Linked DNA regions of Homo sapiens: all the other regions are linked to region 2. Evidence: promoter capture Hi-C in 16 types of primary human blood cells and fetal thymus (Javierre and others, 2016). All regions are on one chromosome and are shown on one strand. The core of a region is centred on a gene start or on the middle of the fragment in contact, and the rest is flanking DNA. Distances in the headings are between cores, read along the strand shown. Region 1 overlaps LINC02552 (long intergenic non-protein coding RNA 2552). Region 2 holds the start of GRIA4 (glutamate ionotropic receptor AMPA type subunit 4). Region 3 holds the start of LINC02552 (long intergenic non-protein coding RNA 2552).

Region 1 (3,403 bases), core at 208-2,707, 1.0 Mb after region 2:
CCTGGCTAATATCTTTATTTTTAGTAGAGACAGGGTTTCACCATGTTGGCTGGGTTGGTCTTGAACTCCTGAGCTCAAGTGATCCACCCACCTCGGCCTCCCAAGGTGTCAATCTAGAATTTTAACACAGTGATTTGACTACAGTTTCAAGTAGAAGAGAGAGAGAGGGAATTGATTTCTTAGTGAATCAGAACAGTCTTAGGATTTTGTTCAATGAAATTGTGGGGAGAGGATAGTTACCATATCTGAAAGCAAGATCAGTACTGCTTAGAGAATGCTAGAAGGTAATACAAGCTAGCAGAGGTAAATTTTGAGGTTTTCAGTTTGAGATTAAAATTGTCTAATTGCTTACTCATAGGTATAATGATTATTTTACAAGTACTTTAATAAAATATACTTTGATATTTAAATTAATTTTTGAGCAAGTCTAATATTATTATAACTAACATATCCCTTTGGGTTAATTTATAAATAAAAATATTTCAAGAAATATTATGGTCTTGAAATATTCATTGACAAGAAACTATTTTTCAGTGCTCCAATTGTATTATTTTTATAATTTTAATTGAACTTTTCTTCCCCAGATCAAAACACATTATTGTATAAAATTTTCAGCATACTTTGAGAATGAAATTATTTTCATTGCTCTCCAAAATCTGCCCACAGAAGCATATTAAAAGAATGAATTCACTTTCCCTGAAACCTCAAAAGATCACGTATGTATAGCAAAGTTCTTTAAATGAGCATCTGATCTGACTTTCAGGAACAAAAGAAAAACATTTCAGAAGTAAAAGGGAAAATGTCCCAAAGAACCATTTATAATGTCCAACTTTACACAAAATCTGGCTCAGTTATTGAGACCTACTTGAACCAGGCTACTTCCTGGATTTTCCCTCTGTGTTCAGCCTTTAGAGCACTGTGGCTATCAGTATTATGCTAAATCACACCCTATGGCGACCCTTTCTGGCAACAGCAGTTAGAGTAGGATTGTGCAGTAAAATTAAAAATGCCTGAAGGCTTTGGATGCTACCTGATTCTGGACTTTTGTTTATAATTCCAGAGCATCTCTAGACCAACTGTACTGGATTATATCATGACAGGGTCACATAAGAAGAATATTAAAATTCTTCATTTCTAACATATGACTATTTGAGAAATTTATAAATCAATCTAAATATTGTGGCAGTATATAGATTTCGACAAATTTACCTGTCCTGAAAAATTCCACTGCATTGCAGAGGGGCAGGTGGTCACTTTTCCAATCTCTGGGCTTAGAAATTATACTGGGGCTGTATCCATGTTCTATGAGTGCTGATTTGGCAACAGCTTATGGGCAGCTGTCATCTGCACAGAACGAAATAACTCAACATTTCTTTTTATTATTGATCACCATTGTCTGGTAGCTAACTCTCTAGTATCTGCATATGAATAATCAACTGCAGTATTACTTTATTTTCTGCTCTGAGAAAATTGTCCTTGACATTGTTTACTGGCATTCATTATGCCCTTGGGAATAATAACTAATTTTAATGTTAGCCTAGGTTAAAAAGTAATTATGAAAGCAAATAATTGCAAAAGTCAAGCCAATCCTATATTCCTAAAACAAATATTGCTCTGATATCTTGCTCATCTATGCTTCTTGGTGGCATTCAGCTAACAGATTTAACTAGCCTTTGTTGATTCTTATTTTTAATGTAGGCCAGGTACTTTTACAAATATTTATCCACCCATACATGTATTGAACACCTTAGTGGCCCCATATGACCCAGCTCTCATCTATGGTACTATGATTATTATGCTTTGGATCTCCAGGCATCAATGTCAATTAAGACCTGTGTCCAGTAGTCCTACAAGTATTTGAATAATGCCTTTTTCCAAGTTTATTGTTTAACTCGAATAACTGGCTATGGATCCCTTCGGCGAAGGAATGAGAGTCATTGTGGAATAGACTCACTGTGTTGTTGCAGCTTCCTTTCTCTTGGGAGGATCTAATTTTATTTTTGGTCAAATGATTTGAGAACAGGAAACAGACTCAGGTTAGAGAATTGAGGAAGGTATGTTTTTTTATTGAGGTAACTACCCTCAGCCTCCTGGTCATCCATCCTTGATTTCTTCTGCTGGTACAAGCTGAGTAATATCCTTGTTGCCCACCTATCTGTCTTGCTATAGAGATGCCATGTGCCATAACTATATAAATATCTACCAATTCATAATCCTCTGTGGGTCAGATCTCTTGACTTCAACTATAACTTGCTGGATAATAAGATAATTGTAACCTATTAAATTTAGTGGTTAACTCCACCACCTATCGTCTATTTTTTTTTTTGAAGTGTAGGTGGGTCCTATTAACCCCACTGCTATCAGAAAGCCACATTTTAGTTTATCCAACTAACAGTCATAGTTCACAAAGTAAAGGCAATACTACAAGTTTTAGTGTTGCTGGTGCCTGTCTCACCAGGTTATTCCTCATAGCCCTTATAAATAATACATCCTCTGGGCCTTTCCATGAAGCATACCATACCCATTGGCTAGACCTGCTGACTATATATGCTGTATCTACTTCCCGCCTGCCCACTTCCAAGAGCATTTTTATTCCTTTCCCTTTTCTACTTCTCCAGTTTTTAGCCCTTTGACTTCATTCAGCATAGTCCATTGCTTTTTACGTGCCTTTAGTTGACATTCTAGTTTGCCCCATATCCTGGGATCATTGCCTGGATGTTAAATTCTACATCATAGGAGAGTATTTACAAGTCAAGAAACTCTTACCTATCCTATTTTATACTCATTCCCCTTGATTAAGCACCCTCAGAATCCAACCCCATTTATGCTCCCCCTGGACTTGCTGGTGTATGATGTCTATTTTACGTGGCTCCTTTTGACTATAAAACCAGCTAAGTTATGCTACAACGTAACACAGTTATAGCAGCAGTGGGCATGATGGGACGTGGGAGCAGATCCTGAGGGGCACACATGATGACTTACAGGAAAGAGCCTCTGAATTATTAACCAACACAAGAAGTGAGTATTAGAGCATTCTAGCTCTTCATGGGAGTGTCATTTTTATAGACTCAGTAGGGCTTTGAGAAGTCAGAAAGATTCATGGCATACACCCAGGCCTCTCCATCTAATGTGCCAGCATTCTAGGATTTTCCTACTGGAGCCCTTACCTTAACATGAGAGAAGAGCCTTGATGAGCATTTAATTGTCTTTGAAGTTGATCTCTCTGTCTGTTAAGTCTACAGCTTTGTCCCTGGATTTATCTACCTGTCACTGAAGAAGAAGCTTTCACACCTGACTTTAAATTGTCTAGTACTCTCCTCAGCTCCTCATAACTTCTCTGTGGAACATCAATGACATTTAACTATAGTCAAGCAAGCATGTTATCCATATAGCATTTCTTCCA
Region 2 (3,260 bases), core at 341-2,840:
AGAGAAATAAGGGCAAAAGCTTCAAGAAGAAAACAAAATAAAAGGGGAGAAGCTTCCAGGAAAGGGATCTAACTTTGGAATCTGCTAACTGGTAGCAAGAAACGGCAGGGCGTGCGGGTGGAAATGTCTTTTTCCTCAAACAGTGTCTTTCTGTAATAGCAAGAAAGCTGCGGCGTCCAGAATGGGAAGAAGTGGATTTTTTTTTTCTTTTTTAAACAAACTCGACATCACTTTATGCTTTAGAGAAAGGGATGGAAATAAATATCATATAAAATACAACCAAATTCCCCGAAGACTTTCCCCCAACTTATTTCAATCCTACTTAAGCGACTATAGGTAAAGGTGGAAATAGGGCTATGGGCTGAGAACGCATGGGTGGGCTGCCCTGGGTGTATTCCAACGGAACCTGCACTAAAGAGGAAGTCTTTTTGCAAAGGAGAGAAAGGAAGAGGAGGGAAACAGAGGGGAAGGGAACTGCTGAAGGTTTCCCTGAATTGCTTATCAGCAACTCATTTAACTCACTTTCGGATATCTGCTACAACCAGCCACATGCACACCCCATCGGAGCACACCTTACCTATTTGCACGCTGCTCGGAAAGGCTCCCATGGCGAGTCCCCAAAATCCAGAAAATAACAAGACAATCTGTCTGGAAATAATCCTCATCTTCTTTTCTCCTCTCCCTGGCGCGCGCTCTCTCTCTTTCTCTCGCACTCTTCCTAAAGGCTGTTCAGAGAAGCATTGAAGACGATGGCGCTAAAATTAAAATCAACCAAAAAAAAAAAAAAAAAAAGAAAAGAAAGAAAAGAAAGAAAAAAAAGGAAAGAGGTTTCGGTGGTTTAAGATTATGACTAGTTCTCCTTAGCAATCCATCGCGAGCCGCCAGATTTTTCCCGCAGTCTCCATAGCCCTGGGAGAGGTTTTCTGTCCGGCTGCAAATGTTGCACATGCAAAAGATGGTGGTGGAGCGTCTAGTGGCTGCTCGCAGGGATGAGACATGCGCTCTATCTTTGCCTCACTCGCACTCGCGCTCGCCCCTTGCTTTCTCACATACACACAAACACTGGCGCCGCGGCCGCCACACGCGCTCTCCAGCTCGCATCAGCCGACATCCCCCAGCAAGCCTGCACCAGCCCGGAGCATCGCTGCCCTCCTGGCGTCCCCTCCTCGAGCGCGCACTCCCTCCGCACGCCCCTCGCCCACCGCTCGGCTGGCTTCACCCCCTGGGTGCTCACCGGAGCGCCCCAGTCTCCCGGACGCTCCGGAGCCAGTCTGGTGTCAGGTTTTCCCTTCTGACCACTCGCTGACTCCCTCCTCTTTTCTTCCTCGGTTCGCAGAGGGACCGACTCTGGGGATGGGCACCCCCAGCGCCCCTCTCTTGGTTTTCCTGGCACCTCTGCTTCTCGGCTGCGCTAGGCAGAAAATCCGCCCACGGGCCAGGTCTGCAAGCCCCAATCGGGGGCTCCGGGGGGTTAGTACCTCCCCATGCCCCCAGGCCCCTGCCGCATCCTTGCAGGTTCGTGAGGAGGACGGGCTGCCTCCCTCTCCTACAGTCCTGGCTTCCCTCTCAGCCTAGCCCTCTTCTGCCACTGGGCTGCGCGCGGGGGACTCCGGTCCTCGCTGCAGCAAAGATTTCTCACCAGCAAACAGCCCGGGAATCTGGAGAGCCTGACAAGGGAATGGATGAGGTGAAAGGGTTCAGAGAGGGATGGGAGGAGAAAAGACAGGCAAAGGGCAGCCCCTGGCGGGTTTAAGAGGCCAGGACCAGGATGAAAGAATTGGAGGAGGTAAGGATGGGGAAGAGAGCCAGAGAAGTTGAAACATCCTGGGAAGGGGAGGAGGGGGTAAAAGGTTATTTTAAATAACTGACGAAGTTTAGGGTACTGAACGGGATGGGGAAAAGACTGAGAAATGAAAATTGAAAGAGGCCTCTAACATTCTCTTGGAAAGGCATGAAGCAGGGATAGGAATAAGAACTGCGTGAAGTGTAAAGTAGGAAAAGTGATTAAAGATTCGATTGCTTTCTATACAGTCACCCATTCCGGAGGACTCTTTCCTTCTGTGCTGTGGCCCATTGCAGGAGCAGGAGGGACACAGCGCAAAGGCTGATGAAGGACCAGAGGGGCAGTGCTTGGGGCAGTGGGCACAGGTGTCTGACAGGAAGATAGTGTTTCGTGCACATCTCCTCTTGTCTGGGACTCTGGAATGCTCACTCTGCTCCACGCCACCTCCAGGTAGACTTAAGCACTTCAGTGATGATGTCAATAGTTGTTTTGACTGGGTAGAAGTGAAAATGAATTATCCTAGAAAGTTTTGGGGTTACAGTCTCACTTGCTCTCCAGAGTCACCTTTAAGATTGTCCTTTCATCTGCCTGTCCTGGACTGAGCTTGAACCACACTCAGAAGCAGTCACTGTGGTAGCCGTGAGTGACCGGTTTCTGATTTCCTCTGTATGGTTTGAGATTTCCTGATCTAGTTAGTAAATACAATCTCCTGTTCCAATAAGCTGTGTGAGAGAATCATTAGAAGGAGAGGTTCTCCTTAAACGTTAGGGAACCTAGGGTGATGTCTGCCATTAAATTTTTAAAAAGAATATAGCAAATGCCTAGGTTTGCCTGATATAATATTTGAGACTACAATGCTTAAAGTGGAATTCTTGCAAGGGACTTACAGAAAGCCTGGTAACGGCTTTTTGAAATATACATTACCTTAACTCTTTCAAAATACTTTATTTGGTGTCACTGATTACCTGTATTTGTAGTTTGTAGATGACATTTTAAAATCCCTGCTAAAACTTGAGTGCTTTTCTATTTCCTAAGTTTTGAATTTTATTTTTAAAATTGCATCTTTAAAATAAGTGTCTGCTTTCCCGTTACATTTCACCACAGATTGTTATGAAAAAAAAAACCTAATTGTAACTGTATTTTACAAATCATACATTTGTCATTTTAGTTTGTGAAGTTTTAGTCTTGCAAGTCAAGTGAAATTTGAAGCATTTTTCCTTTTTTTATTTTTCTGTGTTAAAAAACAAGGCTGTGAATAATAGCATTCTGTTTTCTCTTGAAAAAGGATAATAGAGTATGACACATAAAATTCAAGTTAAATTAAAATTTCAAAATCCACCAAACTGTTAAACTCATCACTTGCTTGGGTAACTAGTGAAGCTCTTCCTGATCCAGAGGCAATTATTAACTTTAATTCTTCTCAAAATTGAAAGATTTCAGTTTTCATATGATGTAATAGCATCATTGATATAGATGC
Region 3 (3,040 bases), core at 99-2,598, 1.0 Mb after region 2:
GGAGGAAGTTATTTTAATTCCAAGTAACAAGAATAATTTTGCATCCTGAGATCCAGTGCTGCTACTTAAAACCAAAATACACCAACATTTTATGGCACAGAAATACAGAAGATCCTTCTTGCCAAATGCCTCTGTGTTTATTTACTTCAAGTCCCAGAAGAACAACCCAGATCAATTTTGCCACTGACATTATAAATAGCATAGCAAATTCATAAGGAGTCTTTTCTTCAAAGAACGGAAACTAATCTGAAGTCTGATTAAACTCACAGGGTCCTTGTGAGGGAGATGGGAAGAGGCAGAGTATTTTGTCTAATTTCAAGTTCAAGAAAGCAAAGAACACAAAAGTTAAGTGGCTGGTGTCCATTTACTCAAGTAAATGTATTCAGGAGTTGAGCCAGAAATAAAGATCAAGTCTTCTGGCCCATGCACTAGGCCCCATGCTGCCTCACAGCTTTCAAAACCTTCATTTTCTTGGGAAATGCTAAAAAGCTTTCCCCTACCATACATACTAGATTCAGACACACTGCCATCTACTGACCCACCAAAGGATGTGCCAGCACAAGACATCCTGACCTTCAAGGGAGGGAGGAACACCTTGAGAGGAGTTGAGATCCTGCTTTCTCTTCAGAATGCCATCTCTAGGATGCCAATGGGCTGTGTCTACAGTACTATGTAGGAAAGTGCTGCAAGAGGTAAGTGAATTTAGAATATTTCCTCCCCGATGAAGGGATTAGTATTCTGGCACTATTAATATTTATATAACGATGTCACAATGCACCATGTTGTCTATATGTGGGATATCCTTGAAATAACCCCTTCCTCTCGTACTCTTATTTTGACATATTCGTCTAGGGATTTGAATAGTATAAGACAGCCTTTCTTTTTCACATAAAACAGTTTGAGGAATGCCATACGATTTTTGTGTTGTCTATTTTGTCTTTCACTGGTGTCCTATAAGATGTGCTAGTTATCCTACATGATGCCAAGAAAGGCATAATAGAAACCAAGCTAAATAGCCACAGTCCTGTGCTTGTAGAAAATATCATAAAATGTCCTAAAAGAGCTCTAACAATAGGAGAACTAGGCTCCTAACTATAATTTCAGCAATATTCTTTTTCGTTCAGAGCCAAGGTATTTTTTTCCCAGAAAAAATATCAGTGTCTTTCTTGCCACATCAACCCTTTAGAGGTTGCCTACATTCTTCCTAGAATAAAAGTAACATTTTAAAGACTTCATCAAGCGATGATGAATACAATTACTGTTTTTATTCCATTTTTACAGCCAAAAATTAAAGTTATGATGTTTGTCTATTGCTTGTGATTGTACTTAGTCCATTGCCTCTAAGAAAGAAGTTGAATTTAAGTATGTGGACCATATATTTCTTTTTTGATGAGTGTAAATGGATAAAATTAATATCTTAATATATAATCAGTGTCTATAAAAGAATCCACGTAGTAGCAGAGAAGCATTTGTGCCATGCTGGTTACTTGTCTTCATTTGCTTTGAGATCTCAAGAAAAGTTTATTTCCCAGGATGGTGGTTCACAGGCATTGTGGTTGAGGACTATACATAGAAAACTAATTGTGAAAATAGAACTTATTCCTATTCTTTCAGGATATGAAATCTTATGTTCATGACAATTTAATTGTTTTTATAAAATAATTGGTTTGGCATTACAGTTAGTAAAGCAGAACTTATCCTTTGAAGTTTACAGCTTGGAACTCAATCTGAAGAAGACCACTGATTTAATTTGGAATAAATGTCTATATGTGTCCAACCAAATCTTTACAGAAATATCTTAAGTCTTCTTAGGCAGAAATAAGAAACTGTTGTTTCCAAATTTTTTAAATGTCAAGAGGGTCTCTAAAATTATGACAGAGATGAGGGATACAAGGAGAGATACATAAAGAATGGAAACATCTGGGAGTTTTACTGACTCAGTGAAACTAGGGCATTGTGAAAACCTAATTGAAAAATCTACAGAGAGAAAAGTCCAGTTCACAAATCTGGCCCTCACATGTTCAGTCCTTAGTAAAGGCTTATTAGATATTGCAAGATGAGAGTGAGGTCCAGGAATGGTTAAATGAAAAATGAGAAAATAAAAGGTTATGAGGAGAGCAGGAAGGAATAATAATAGGAGGGTGCCAAGGCATTTGAACATCTTTGTTATGAGCTTGGACAAGATGCTAGACATTTAGAAAGCTTACCTGAGTTAAACTGAACTACCAAACTTATTGAGAAGCAGTAACAAGAACAAAATGTTCTTTAGCCTTGTTCTATTTAAAGCAGATGCATGCATATTAATCTTTTACAACATGATATTTATATTTGATTCTTCTTGTAAAACCATCACAAGACATCAACTCGTCAGAATACATAGATTTTTTAAATGTTTGCAGAAACTATCTTCCTGACACTGGAATGGTGAATTAATTCAAGTGTTATCCATATGTTTCCTCTGTTATTCTTTCTTTTAATTTTTCTGTCATTATATTTTTGATGATTTAAGACAGAGATACAACATCACATTTTCTTAAATAAAGAATATAAAAATAATTTCACACAGAATTAAAGGTATTTGTACAAATTAGTATGGTTTGTTTTAGATAAAAGATTAAGTAATCAGTTAAATCTCCTAGACCTAGGTGAGCCATAAGAAACACAGGCAGCGTCTGGCATTCTTGTAGAGTTGAGGAGACAGCTGAGAGTTCCCAGACAAAAGCAGCTAGGGTTCACAGAGCATGAGCGAGGGGAGAGCTGCATGGGGAGAAAACTCTGGCAATTTCTATCAGGTCTTTCTCAAGTGTTTCAGGAGAGAACTCATCTGCACACGTGTGGGTGAAATCTACTCGAAACTGAAGAATGAACCTCTGGAAGGACTAAGGGGAACAATTCTTGGAGCTCAGGTTAGGCCAAGAATATTTTATTTTTCTTCACCATCCAGAAGGGTCAGTTCATCAAGAGGATATAGCATTGTGAAGTATTTATGCAAGTAGTAACAGAGCTTCAAAATACATGAAACGAAAATAGATAAAGCTGC

The links. Contacts are between HindIII fragments. The CHiCAGO score rates a contact against its expected background, and 5 or more counts as called.
Region 1: a fragment that was not itself captured here is called in contact with the fragment with the promoter of GRIA4 in region 2 in 2 of 17 cell types (neutrophils and monocytes); the score reaches 5.8 in neutrophils.
Region 3: a contact is called between a fragment that was not itself captured here and the fragment with the promoter of GRIA4 in region 2, in 4 of 17 cell types (M0 macrophages, monocytes, megakaryocytes and 1 more). The highest score is 6.7, in M0 macrophages.

What each region holds. Positions count from the first base shown.
Region 1 is chr11:104,589,630-104,593,032 of GRCh38, reverse strand. All of the region lies in intron 1 of LINC02552 (long intergenic non-protein coding RNA 2552), which reads left to right. Among named protein-coding and RNA genes, the nearest start is that of LINC02552, 18 kb to the left of the region's middle. The HindIII fragment of the contact is 3,654 bases long and covers 1-3,284 here.
Region 2 is chr11:105,608,403-105,611,662 of GRCh38, reverse strand. GRIA4 (glutamate ionotropic receptor AMPA type subunit 4) reads right to left here and starts at 1,590. Exons shown (of 17, transcript NM_000829.4): 1 at 1,235-1,590; 2 at 578-755. The coding sequence starts at 665. RefSeq lists a silencer at 414-614. The HindIII fragment of the contact is 4,294 bases long and covers 55-3,260 here.
Region 3 is chr11:104,606,889-104,609,928 of GRCh38, reverse strand. It overlaps LINC02552 (long intergenic non-protein coding RNA 2552), which reads left to right and starts at 627. Exons shown (of 4, transcript NR_120585.1): 1 at 627-692. The HindIII fragment of the contact is 1,713 bases long and covers 492-2,204 here.